Linked DNA regions of Homo sapiens: regions 1 and 3 are each linked to region 2. The links are contacts of gene promoters, found by promoter capture Hi-C in blood cells and fetal thymus (Javierre and others, 2016). All regions are on one chromosome and are shown on one strand. The core of a region is centred on a gene start or on the middle of the fragment in contact, and the rest is flanking DNA. Distances in the headings are between cores, read along the strand shown. Region 1 overlaps STRBP (spermatid perinuclear RNA binding protein). Region 2 holds the start of STRBP (spermatid perinuclear RNA binding protein). Region 3 overlaps STRBP (spermatid perinuclear RNA binding protein).

Evidence for each region. The method cuts DNA at HindIII sites, captures the fragments that hold promoters and counts their contacts. A CHiCAGO score of 5 or more calls a contact.
Region 1: a fragment that was not itself captured here is called in contact with the fragment with the promoter of STRBP in region 2 in 1 of 17 cell types (naive B cells); the score reaches 6.9 in naive B cells.
Region 3: a fragment that was not itself captured here is called in contact with the fragment with the promoter of STRBP in region 2 in 1 of 17 cell types (total B cells); the score reaches 5.5 in total B cells.

What each region holds. Positions count from the first base shown.
Region 1 is chr9:123,181,593-123,185,297 of GRCh38, reverse strand. STRBP (spermatid perinuclear RNA binding protein) reads left to right here. Exons shown (of 19, transcript NM_018387.5): 3 at 1,000-1,166. The coding sequence starts at 1,164. Among named protein-coding and RNA genes, the nearest start is that of MIR600HG, 68 kb to the right of the region's middle. The HindIII fragment of the contact is 4,656 bases long and covers 1-3,705 here.
Region 2 is chr9:123,266,445-123,270,344 of GRCh38, reverse strand. It overlaps STRBP (spermatid perinuclear RNA binding protein), which reads left to right and starts at 1,759. Exons shown (of 19, transcript NM_018387.5): 1 at 1,759-1,909. RefSeq lists silencers at 1,334-1,813, 1,984-2,033 and an enhancer at 1,433-1,933. The HindIII fragment of the contact is 5,570 bases long and covers 488-3,900 here.
Region 3 is chr9:123,198,276-123,202,343 of GRCh38, reverse strand. All of the region lies in intron 2 of STRBP (spermatid perinuclear RNA binding protein), which reads left to right. Among named protein-coding and RNA genes, the nearest start is that of STRBP, 68 kb to the left of the region's middle. The HindIII fragment of the contact is 1,676 bases long and covers 992-2,667 here.

The sequences.
Region 1 (3,705 bases), core at 595-3,094, 85 kb after region 2:
ACCTCACTTGGCCTAACTGCTAATATTAAGAAACTGTTACTGACAATAGGGTGTTTCCTTATTAAAGGAAAGATATTTAAATGAAGAGAAAGTTATTTTCTTTGTGAGTTTATACGATATATGGTATGTAAATTATGTCCTCTTATAGCCACATAGTTAAAGCATGTGCTGTATTTTGATGTTCTGGTTTTTTTTTTTAATTTTTTTCTCCTTTTCTTGTAGCTAGGTTTATAATATAAGTGTTTCATCAGTGCTCAGAAAAGTTTACTTTTACTATGTCTGGAATAAAATCTCATAAAGGTGGAACAAAATAAGTAACAATGATTAGGACTCTGGATAGAAATAATACTGTGGAAATCTGGTGAGGGACATCCAGGGGTAATGAAGTCAGGATCTAGTGAATATTCAGGAGTCTGGCATAGCAGTGCATACAGGCCCAGGGACAAATAGGGCCTTTTGGGAGTTAGGAAGTAGAGCCAAAAAAGCATTCTGAATTTTAGGCTGAAAAAAATTAAAGAACAAACATTGTGCCAACATGTACTCTTTAATGGCAGTATCCAATGTAAAAGCATCATGGAATAATCATTGGTATTGTTGTATTTTCAGGTGTCTTTACTGAATTTTCAGATGGGTCTGAGTAATGCCAATTTCTGATTGAAAATCTAATGGTTAACTGCAACTTGTTGCCATCAGTGGTAGTATTACTCTTTCAGGTGGTGCTTCTTGACTGAATCTCTTTGCAAATGTATTTATCTCATTGAGTGCTAGTCAGCCAGCTGCCACATTGTAGCTACAGGAGGCTTACTTTTCTGGCCATATCACCTAGGCTCCTGGGCCCAGGCCTTCAAAAGATGTGTTAGCTTTTTGTTTGAACTGAGGGAATTTTCCTCTATTGAGTTTATTTCTTTTTAATCAGGAACATGTTTATGGGTTGCACACTCATATTGGAAGCTAATAGTAAATAAGCATTTTTGAAGTTGTTTTCCTCTTCTCTTGCAGGTGTGTTCCAGAGAACAAGCCTTCAGACATTTGCTATATTGACGCTGAGCTGTCAGGGGACTCAGGCTTATGAGGAGGTATTGTTACACAAAACAGTGTCTAGTGAAGACGACAAGAAAGAGGGGAAAGGATCGGAAAAAGAAGCTAAAATACTATAGAAAACCATGGTAGGTTATTGTGGATATTTTCATAATTTAGTTACAAAAGACTCCAGTAATTTAAAATTAGAAATGTTAACAGTGAGGGCAAATGAAAAACAGTGGTGTTAATTTTTGGCTTTAGTGTGTCATATAAAGATGGCACTCTACTATTCAAAGCGAATGAATTCAGATTTACTACAAGCTATGTAAACCACAAGGTAGGGCCTCATGAGCCTGTAGGCCATGAATTATTAAAACAAAGGAGGAAATGCTCATAAATAATATTTTCTAATAAAACTGGCATTAGCAAACTGATACAAATAGCTAGGTTTTTAACTTTAAGTTCAGTTTTTTTTCTTGTGGAAATTAAAAATTCTGAACCAGTCCTTTAATTAGTGATATGAATGATGTAGAAGTTTATAATATGTGTGAATGTTTAACTGAAAAAGCCACCTCTTTTTCATACTTTTAAAATAATAGGGTCAAGTGCTGAGTATAGTAGGGGCACTGAATTGAGAATCAAAGAAACCTTGCTTTTTGGGAAGAGTTCAGACTTAAATTGAATTTGTGATGTTAGATGAGCTCATAGTCTCTGGTGCCTAGGCTTTTAATTGGTAAAATGTGCTGATTTTTTTTCCCTTAGTATTATGAGTTCTGGAGGGTGTTATATGAATTTTTTTTCTCCTAAGTATAAGCGAGAAAAGGTTTCTTTTTTTTTTTTAAAGACGGAGTCTCACCCTGTTGCCCGGGCTGGAATGCAATGGCGCAATCTCGGCTCACTGCAACCTCCGTCTCCCAGGTTCAAGCAATTCTCCCTGCCTTAGCCTCCCGAGTAGCTGGGATTATAGGTGCCCGCCACCATACCCAGCTAATTTTTTTTATTTTTAGTAGAGACGGGGTTTCGCCATGTTGGCCAGGTTGGTCTCAAACTGACCTCAGGTGATCCACCCACCTCAGCCTCCCAAAGTGCTGGGATTACAAGCATCAGCCACCGTGCCTGGCCAAGATTTTAAAAACACATTACCAGTGAGAGAAAAAGCAGAAAATATTAATCACCAGTATGATTATTTGGAATATGTTGTTTAGCCGGTCTGTTGGTGGTGATTTTTTTGATTTTTTGTTTTTTTTTTTTTTTTTTTTTTTTGAGACAGGATCTTGCTCTGTCCTCCAGGCTGGAGTGCAGTGACATGATCATAGCTCACTGCAAACTCCAACTCCTTGGGCTCAAAGGATCTTCCTGCCTCAAGCCTCCCAAGTAGCTTGGCCTTATAGGCGCATGCCACCACATCTGGCAAATTTTTAAATTTTTTGTAGAGACAGGGTTTTGCTTTGTTGCCCAGGCTGGTCTGGAACGCCTTGGCTCAAGGAACCCTGCTGCTGCCTTAGCCTTCCAAAGTGCTGGGATTATAGGCGTGAGGCACCGTGCCCAGCCTGGTGATGTTTCTTTAAATGTTACTTGCTTTTAAAAATATTTGTGCCAAGGATTATAACTTAATCAGCTGACTCCTTAGAGAAGAAATTCTGATATTTTAGATCTAGATTGTGGGAACAAATGTTAACTTGGGATTTTCCCTGTCATTTTAGTTATGTGGTGAAATGTGAAAAAACCACACTGATTCTTTTATATCTTACCATGTGAATTATTTACCTCTCATTCCGCTCATTTCTTATAGTCTTGATATTCTTACAACTAAAAGAAATGCTTTATTATTTTTCAGAGTGGATGAAGATGTCTTCCTTAGTTTATTCTTTTTAAATTCAGCTTAGATTTTCTGGTGTATAAATTTTGTGTTTTTATATAATTTAATTGATGAGTATTTTCTGGTTTCTCTTATTACTTGCTTTTTAGATCTCAGATTGCAATGAGAATTTTCTCTTTCTGCATGGTTCTTCTGATTTAATTTTTTGTCTTTTTTTTTTTTTTTTTTTTTTTTTTTTTTTAAAGAAACGGAGTCTCACTCTGTTGCCCAGGCTGGAGTGCAATGGCACGATCTCAGCTCACTGCAACCTCTGTGTCCCGGGTTCAAGTAATTCTTCTGCCTCAGCCTCCTGAGTAGCTGGGACTGTAGGGGTGTACCACCATACCTGGCTAATTTTTGTATTTTTAGTAGAGATAGGGTTTCACCATGTTGGCCAGGCTGGTCTTGAACTCCTGACCTCTGATGATCCACCCTCCTCGTGAGCCAAAGTGTTGGGATTACAGGCGTGAGCCACTGTGCCCAGTCTGATTTATTTTTTCAATACTTAAAGAAAATCTGTTTAGAGCTTATTTGAGTAAATAAGATTTCTCTGCATTTCTTCAATTTTTCCTGTTACTGTTTCTTTTTTTTTTTTTTTTTTTTTTTTTTTTTTTTTTTTGAGACGAAGTTTTGCTCTTGTTGCTGAGGCTGGAGTGCAATTGTGTGATCTCAGCTCACTGCAACCTCCGCCTCCTGGGTTCAAGCAATTCTCCTGCCTCAGCCTCCCAAGTAGCTGGGATTACAGGCATGCACCAACCACCATGCCTGGCTAAATTTATATTTTTAGTAGAGACGAGGTTTCTTCATGTTGGTCAGACTGGTCTCGA
Region 2 (3,900 bases), core at 510-3,009:
ATACTTATGGGCATCCTACAAAACCCAGCTTTAATGATCTCATGTCATGTGCACGTGTAGTCTTCCCTAACACACTTAGGCAGGAAGATGACCCTGTCCTCAAGGGACTGAGAGACCAGGGAGGAGACAGACAGCTAAACAATTACAATCTAGTGCCATGAGAATACATATAGCTTAACAGGACTATGTTCAAGCCGAGGGAGCTTAGACCATGTGTCTGAGGCAGCCAAGGATCTCCAGAGAATATACTCTGAGCTGATTGATAAGGATACCCAGGATTTTTTTCAGGAGGGTCAAGGAAGGTGTGAGTGGTCAGAGGTGGGGAGAGGGTTTAGAAAGGGATTTGCGGCCTGGCATCTGTCTCAGGAGACTCAGGCTCCTACACACCTGGGCATACTCTGGAAACAACAGTACTGTAGTTCTGTGTGGCTGGAGGGTCACATTGGCCTGAAGGAGGGGCAAAGGGAAGGGCGTGCACCTTGAAGCTTAAGGCCAGATCACCAAGGCCTTTTCAGTTGAAATTGGGTTTTTTACACTTTATTCTGTGAATGAAACAGAGCTGTTAAAATATTTGAGCCTGGTGTGTTAGAAAGATGAAAAGGGGCCCCAAGGGGGCTGTTGTGGGGAGTCCCTCCTCAACCCCTGGGCTGTTCAAGGTCCTCTGTCTTGGCACTGAGTGGTCAGGTCGTTTCTGCTCCAGGCTGGGAATTGTCTTAGGGCAAAGACATTGTCTCATTTGCCAGTGCATCCCTGCAGCCTGCAAACCCCCCGGTATACAGCAGGGACTGTATACTGGCAAGCAGAATGCTGGGCACCAAGAACTTGAGGCCAGGGACTGTAGAATAGAAAGCGAACCTTTAATTCTTCCCCAGCGCCGCCCCTGGCACAGAGCTGGTAGGTGTTCAGCCAAAGTCTGACCCAACCATAAGGAGGTCAGAGAGGTCCTGGGCCCAAACTCAATCCCAGCGAGGTTCATTATAGGCAGGTGAAGGAGAGGTGATTGTAGCAGCTTCTGTTCAGCGACTGCTGTGTGCCAGGATTCACACCTATTGTCTTATGCCATCTCCCCAACAGCTCCTAAATTGGAATTATTGTCCCAGTTTTCCTGATGAGGAAACTGAGGCTCAGAACGGTTCTTGGTAACTTGGCCAAGGTCACACAGCCAGCAAGTAGGTGGGCGGTGGCACAAGTCAAAGCCTACTGGCCTGCCCCTCTACCTCGGGAGGCAGTGCGACGCCTACTCCATTTGTGTGGCTGCTGGGGTTGGGGGGCATCCCGCACTGGGGTGCGGGGCCCGGGGAAGGCGGCTAGCCGCCGCGGCTCGGCGCAGCTCCCAGGTTCGGAAGTTACGAAGTTTCCGTGCATTTCGCTAGCCTCCCAGCGCAGCTCGTCTCCGCTCCGCCGCAGTTACGCCGCTAGCGCAGCGGGGCTCAGGTGCTGCAGCGAGCGGGGGCCTGGGGCCGGGAGGAAGGCGGGGACGCAGTTTACGTAAGCGTCCGCTGGCAGGTGCATAAGGCCGCCGGCGGCGAGTGCTCCCTGCGCGCTCCCAGGTGCGCACTTGGCGCAGGCGGCGGCACAGCAAGGCGGCGGCGGGCGCTGGCCGGCGCTCTCAGGTGCGGCAGGACGCGCGTGGAGGGGGCGCGCGGCGAACGAGGGGGCGGGCTTTCCGTTCCCCAGCAGCCGCGGGGCCCGCCCCCTGGCCTGGCCAATGGGCGCGCTCGACGGTGTCACGTGCTCGCTGCCGCCGCTGCCGCCGCCGAAGCGGAGACCGGAGCCGCGAGCGCCACCAGGGCAGCAGCCGCCGCAGCCGCCGCCGCTGGGCAGAGGAGCCGGAGACGCGAGCGGGCGAGGTGGCGGCGGCGGCGGAGCGGGAGCGGGTACCGGGCGCGGGCAGAGCGCGGCGGCGCGGGTAGGCTCCGGCGGCGGGGCGGGCGCCTGCGCGGCGGGCCGTCCCGGGCGGGCGGCGGTTAAGGCGGCGGTTGAGGCGGTTGGCGGAGCCGGCCCGGGCCCCGCATTGTTTGTTGTGCGTCCTTAGCAGCGGCGGCGGCGGTGGCGGCCGAGGCGGAGAGCAGGGAGCAATCCCGGCCCCGCGGCTCCGGCATTGTGGCCGCCGCCGCCGCCGCTGCGGTGCCCCGGCCGCTTCGGGCAAGGGCAGCGGGCAGCCTTCCTCACCTTCGCGGGGACGGGGTCCCGGCCGATCAGGGGAGGGCGTGGGCAGGGTTGGGGGACGCGGTGCCGGGAGGTCTTCCGGGACGGAGGGCTCGGGGCTCGGGGCAGGTGTTGGAGGACATTGGGGGCAGGAGCTGGGGAGAGGCTTCGGGGGGCAGGCGGAAGGTGTGGGCAGATTTGGGGGTAAATAGGGGTGCAGAGGGATCCGGCCCAATGGAGGAGGAGAGCCTTCAGGCAGGTTTGGGGGGCCCCCTGGGCCAGGCGAGTGCGAGATGGAGGACATTCCGTCCGGTGGGGGGGGGCACTATATTGTGGGGTTCAAGAGGGAATGAGGGGGCTTTTGGGGAGGGCAGGGACGAGTGGGGTGGGAATGGAGGGAGAAGACTGGGGACTCGAGCAGGACTGGAAGGAGCGCTGCGTGCCAGGGGCAGGGAGTGGGGCGGGTATTAGGAAGGCCACCGGGACGCCCGTGAAGGGGAACGATGGAGGAGGGGGTCGGGGCAGGGGGAAGTGAGGGCAGGCAGGGAGCGCCTGAAAGGGAGGGAGGGGAGCAGGGTGCCTAGGCTTCTGGGGTGATAGGGAAATGAAGGGTAGGCCCAGGGGCTCCAGGAGACCTGCGAGGGGTGTGAGGGAGTGTGTGGCCAGGTGTATAGGGGAGCCTGCAGGGAGGCGGGAGGGGGTTGACATGTAAGGATAAAAAGGCAGGTATCTGGTGCTCAGGGAAGAGGAGTATGGGGTGGAAGGGGGAAGTTCATTGGGGCAGAGACTTAGTTTGAGGGCTTGCAGAGAGAGGTGGGGACAGTAGGAGAAGGGTGATGGGGATGGAGAGCAGGAGGTGTGTGGGGCATTTAAAGGATAGCGGGAGAAGTGCGTGAAATGGAGGGTGTTTATGCAGGAAGTATGGAAGAAGGTGGGATCAGCAAGAGAGGGAATTTTGAGGTAGGACGGAGGGTGAGGGGTTCTTGGCAAGTGTTGGAGGACGTTAGGGGCAGGAGCTGGGGGAGAGGGACAGGTGTGGGGTGGCGTGGAGTGTGTGAGGTGGAGGGCAAAAGGGGGTGGGGAAAGGGAAGTGTTCTTGGAGTGGCAGGTAAAGTGTGGGGACAAATGGAAGGAAAGATTTCTGAGGCGGGAAGTGTGGAGCGGTTGGGGAGGAGGAAGGTGGAGGGGAGGGTGAGAACGAAATCAGTAGAGGGGGACAACGGGATAGACTGGAGGGGAAGGTGGACAGGTCTGGAGTACAGTAGGTGGAGGGAGGGAAGCACAGGTTTGGGGCACTGAATTTTGTGCTGTAGGGAGAAGGGAGGTAGGGAGAAAGAAGGAAGGTAGACAGGCTATTTTGGGGTAGAGGATGTAGAAGAATGCTTAATACCTATAGTGGAGTAAGGGAAGGGCAAGGCAGAGGTGTATGTGGACATGTCTGTAACTAGAAAGGCATAGGTGATGGATTGGAGTGGTGGTGGTGGTGGTGGGGGAAATAGGATGCCCAGGTTTAGGGCAGGAAATGACTGCTTAAGTTGGAGAGAGCTAGGAACACAGGTTGCTTAAGAGAGTATGGAAGATCCAAGGAGTGGAAGTATGGGGAGAGATTGGAACACTTTGAGTTTGAGAGATGAAAGGGGCCAAGATTTTTAGGTCACTGAGAGTCTAAGGAAGATCAGGCAGAGTGCAGAAGTTGGAAAAATAACTAAATGGAGAGGATTAAATTCCATACTGAGAGAAACTGGAGATTGA
Region 3 (4,068 bases), core at 580-3,079, 68 kb after region 2:
ACACCAAAGTGGAAAGCTTAAAACCCACAGGATCTGTAAAACAATTATACAATGAAAAAAGCAAACAAACAAACTAGGTAACAACATGAGGAAGAGAATGATACTTCACATCTCAATATTAGCATTGAATGTCAGTGGCCTAAACTAGCTCCACCTAACATACAGAATGGCAGAATGGATACAGAATCCAAATATCTGCTGTCTTCAAGAAACTCACCTAACAGAGAAGGAGTCCTGTAAACTCAGAAAAGTGGAAAAAGGTATTCTACATAAATGGAAACCAAAAGCAAACAGGAGTAGCTATTCTTAGACAAAACAAACTTCAACAACAGTAAAGGCAAATATAGTCACTATATAATAATAAAACAATCAATTCAACAAGATATTACAATTCTAAAGTTATACGCACCTAACACTGGAACTCCCAGATTTGTAAAACGATTACTGCTAGACCTAAGAAATGAGATAGACAGCAAAACAATAGCAGTGGTAGATTTCAGTACACCACTGACAGCACTAGACAGATCTTTGAGACTAAAAGTCAACTGAGAAACAGTGGACTTAAACGAAATGCTAGAACAAATGGACTGATATTTAGAGAACATTCTACCTAAGATCTGCAGAATATACATTTTTATCAGCACATGGAACATTGTCCAAGATAGATTATATGATAGGCCACAAAGCAAGTCTCAATAAATTTTAAAAAATCGAAATTATATCCAGTATCCCTGCAGACCACAGCGGCATAAAACTAGAAATCAACTCTAGTTTGTACTAGTCAAAGAAGTACTGTTCTGGAAGTACTAGTCAAAAAGGAACTCTCAAAACTGTACAAATACATGGAAATTAAATATTCTGCTCCTGAATGATATCTGGGTTAACAATGAAACCAAGATGGAAATTTTAAAATTCTTTGAAATGAATGATAATAATGAGACAAGTTATCAAAACCTTTGGGATACAGCAAAAGCAGTGCTGAGGGAAAGCTTATAGCACTAAATGCCTACATCAGAATTTCAGAGCACAAATTGACAACCTAATGTCACACCTCAAGGAACTGGAGAAACAGGAACAAAAAGCTAGAAGAAGAAGTAACAAAGATCAGAGCAGAACTAAATGAAATTCAAACACACACAAAAAAATACAAAAGATCAGTGAAATATGCTGTCGCTTCGAAAAAATAAAATTGATAGACCATGAGCTAGATTAATCAAGAAGAGAGAAGGCCCAAATAAGCTCAATTAGAAATGAAACTGGTGACATTGCACTTGACACCACAGAAATACAAAAGATCATTCCAGACTACTATTAACACCTTTATGTGCACAAACTAGAAAAGCCAGAGGAAATGGTCAAATTCCTGGAAACGTACAACCTTCCTAGATTAAATCAGGAAGAAATAAAACCTTGAACAGACCAATAACAAGCAGTGAGATTAAATCAGTAATTAAAAAATTGCCAGCCAGGCATGGTGGCTCATGCCTGTAATCCCAGCATGTTGGGAGGCCGAGGCGGGCGGCTCATGAGGTCAGGACATCGAGACCATCCTGGCTAACATGGTGAAACCTGGTCTCTACTAAAAAAAAAAAAAAAAAAAAAAAAAAAATTAGCGGGGTGTGTGGCGGGGCGCCTGTAGTCCCAGCTACTCGGGAGGCTGAGACAGGAGAATAGGGTGAACCCAGGAGGCGGAGCTTGCAGTGAGCCGAGTTCGCGCCACTGCACTCTAGCCTGGGTGACAGAGTGAGATTCCGTCTCAAAAAAAAAAAAAAAGACAAAAAAATTGCCAACAGAAAAAGCCCAGGATCAGATGAATTCACAGCTGAATTCTACCAGACATTCAGAGACTTGGTACCAATCCTACTGAAACTATTCCAAAAGATTGAGAGAAGGAATCCTCCCTAGATCATTCTGTGAAACCAGTATCACCCTAATTAGAAAACTAGGAAAGGACACAACAAAAGAAGAAAACTGCAGAGCAATTTTTGTGATGAACATAGATGCAAAAATCCTCAACAAAATATTAGCTAACTGAATTCAACAACACATCAAAAAGATAATTGATCATGATCAAGTGGGTTTCATGGCAGAATGGGTACAGAATCGAAGTATCTGCTGTTTTCAAGAAACTTGTCTAGTAGGAGTAGTTTAAAATATGCAAGTCAGTAAATGTGATACAGCACATAAACAATTAAAAACAAAAGCCATATGATCATCTCAATAGATGCAGAAAAAGCATTTGACAAAATCCAGCACACTTTATGATAAAAACTGTCAACAAACTGTTGAGAGTAGGCATGGAAGGGACCTACCTTAAAATAATAAAAGCCGTCTATGACTAACGCACAGCCAACATCATACGGAATGGGGAAAAGTTGAAAGCATTTCCCCGAGAGCAGGAACAAGACAAGGATGCCCACTTTCACCACTCCTATTAAACATAGTTCTGGAAGTACTAGCCAGATCAGTTAGGCAAGAGAAAGAAATAAAGGGTATCCAAATTGGAAAGGAGAGAGTCAAATTATTGCTGTTTGCAGATGATATGATTGTATGGCTAGAAAGTCATAAAGACTCTTAGATTTGATAAACAAATTCAGTAAACTCTCAGTTTGTAATATCAGTGTACACAAATCGATAGCACTGCTATACACCAGCAATGATCAAGCTTAGAATCAAATCAAGAACTCAGTCCCTTTTATAACATCTGCAAATAAAATAAAATAACTAGGAATATACCTAACCAAGGAGGTGAAAGATCTCTACAAGGAGAACTACAAAGCACTGCTGAAAGAAACTGTAGATGATACAAACAAATGGAAACACATCCTATGCCCATGGATTGGAAGAATCAATATTGTGAAAATGACTATACTGCCCAAAGCAATCTACAGATTCAATGCACTTCCCATCAAAATACCAACATCATTTTTCACAGAATTAGAAAAAACAATCCTAAAATTCGTGTGGAACCAAAAAAGAGCCTGCGTAGTCAAAGCCATTCTAAGCAAAAATAACAAATCTGGAGGCATCACATTACTGGACTTCAAACTGTACTACGAGGATACAGTTACCAAAACAGTATATGGTGCTGGTATAAAAGTAGGCACATAGGCTGGGTGCGGTGGCTCACGCCCGTAATCCCAGCACTTTGGGAGGCTGAGGCGGGCAGATCACAGGTCAAAAGATCGAGACCATCCTGGCCAAAATGATGAAACCCCATCTCTACTAAAAATTAGCCGGATGTGGTGGCACGTGCCTGTAGTCCCAGCTACTCGGGAGGCTGAGGCAAGAGAATCGCTTGAACCCAGGAGGCAGAGGCTGCAGTGAGCCCAGATTGTGCCACTGCACTCCAGCCTGGCGACAGAGTCAGACTCCATCTCAAAAAAAGAAGTAGGGACATAGACAAATGAAACAGAATAGAGAGCCCAGAAATAAGCCAAATATGTACAGCCAACTGATCTTTGATGAAGCATACATAAACATAAATTGGGGAATGGACACTATTTAATAAATGGTCCTGGGAAAATTGGCAAGCTACATGTAGTAGATGAATGAAACTGTCTATCTCTCACTATATACAAAAATCAAGATGGAACAAGGACTTAAATGTAAGACCTGAGACAATAAAAATTCTAGAAGGTAATGTTGGAAAAATTCTTCTAGACATTGGCCTAGGCAAAGAATTTATGGCTAAGACCCCGAAAGCACATGCAACAAAAACAAAAATAAATAAATGGGACCTAATTAAACTAAAAAGCTTCTGCAAAAGAAATAATAGAGTAAACAGGCAACCCACACAATAGGTGAAAGTATTTTCAAACTACGCGTCCAACCAAGGACTAGTATCCAGAATCTATAAGGAACTCAAATCAAGAAAAAAAAAATCCCATTAAAAAGCAGGCAAAAGGCCGGGCGCCGTGGCTCACACCTGTAATCCCAGAACTTTGGAAGGCTGAGGTGGGTGGATCACCTGATGTCAGGAGTTAAAGACCAGCCTGGCCAATATAGTGAAAATGTGTCTCTACAAAAATACAAAAAAAATTAGCCTGGCATGATGGCGGGTGCCAG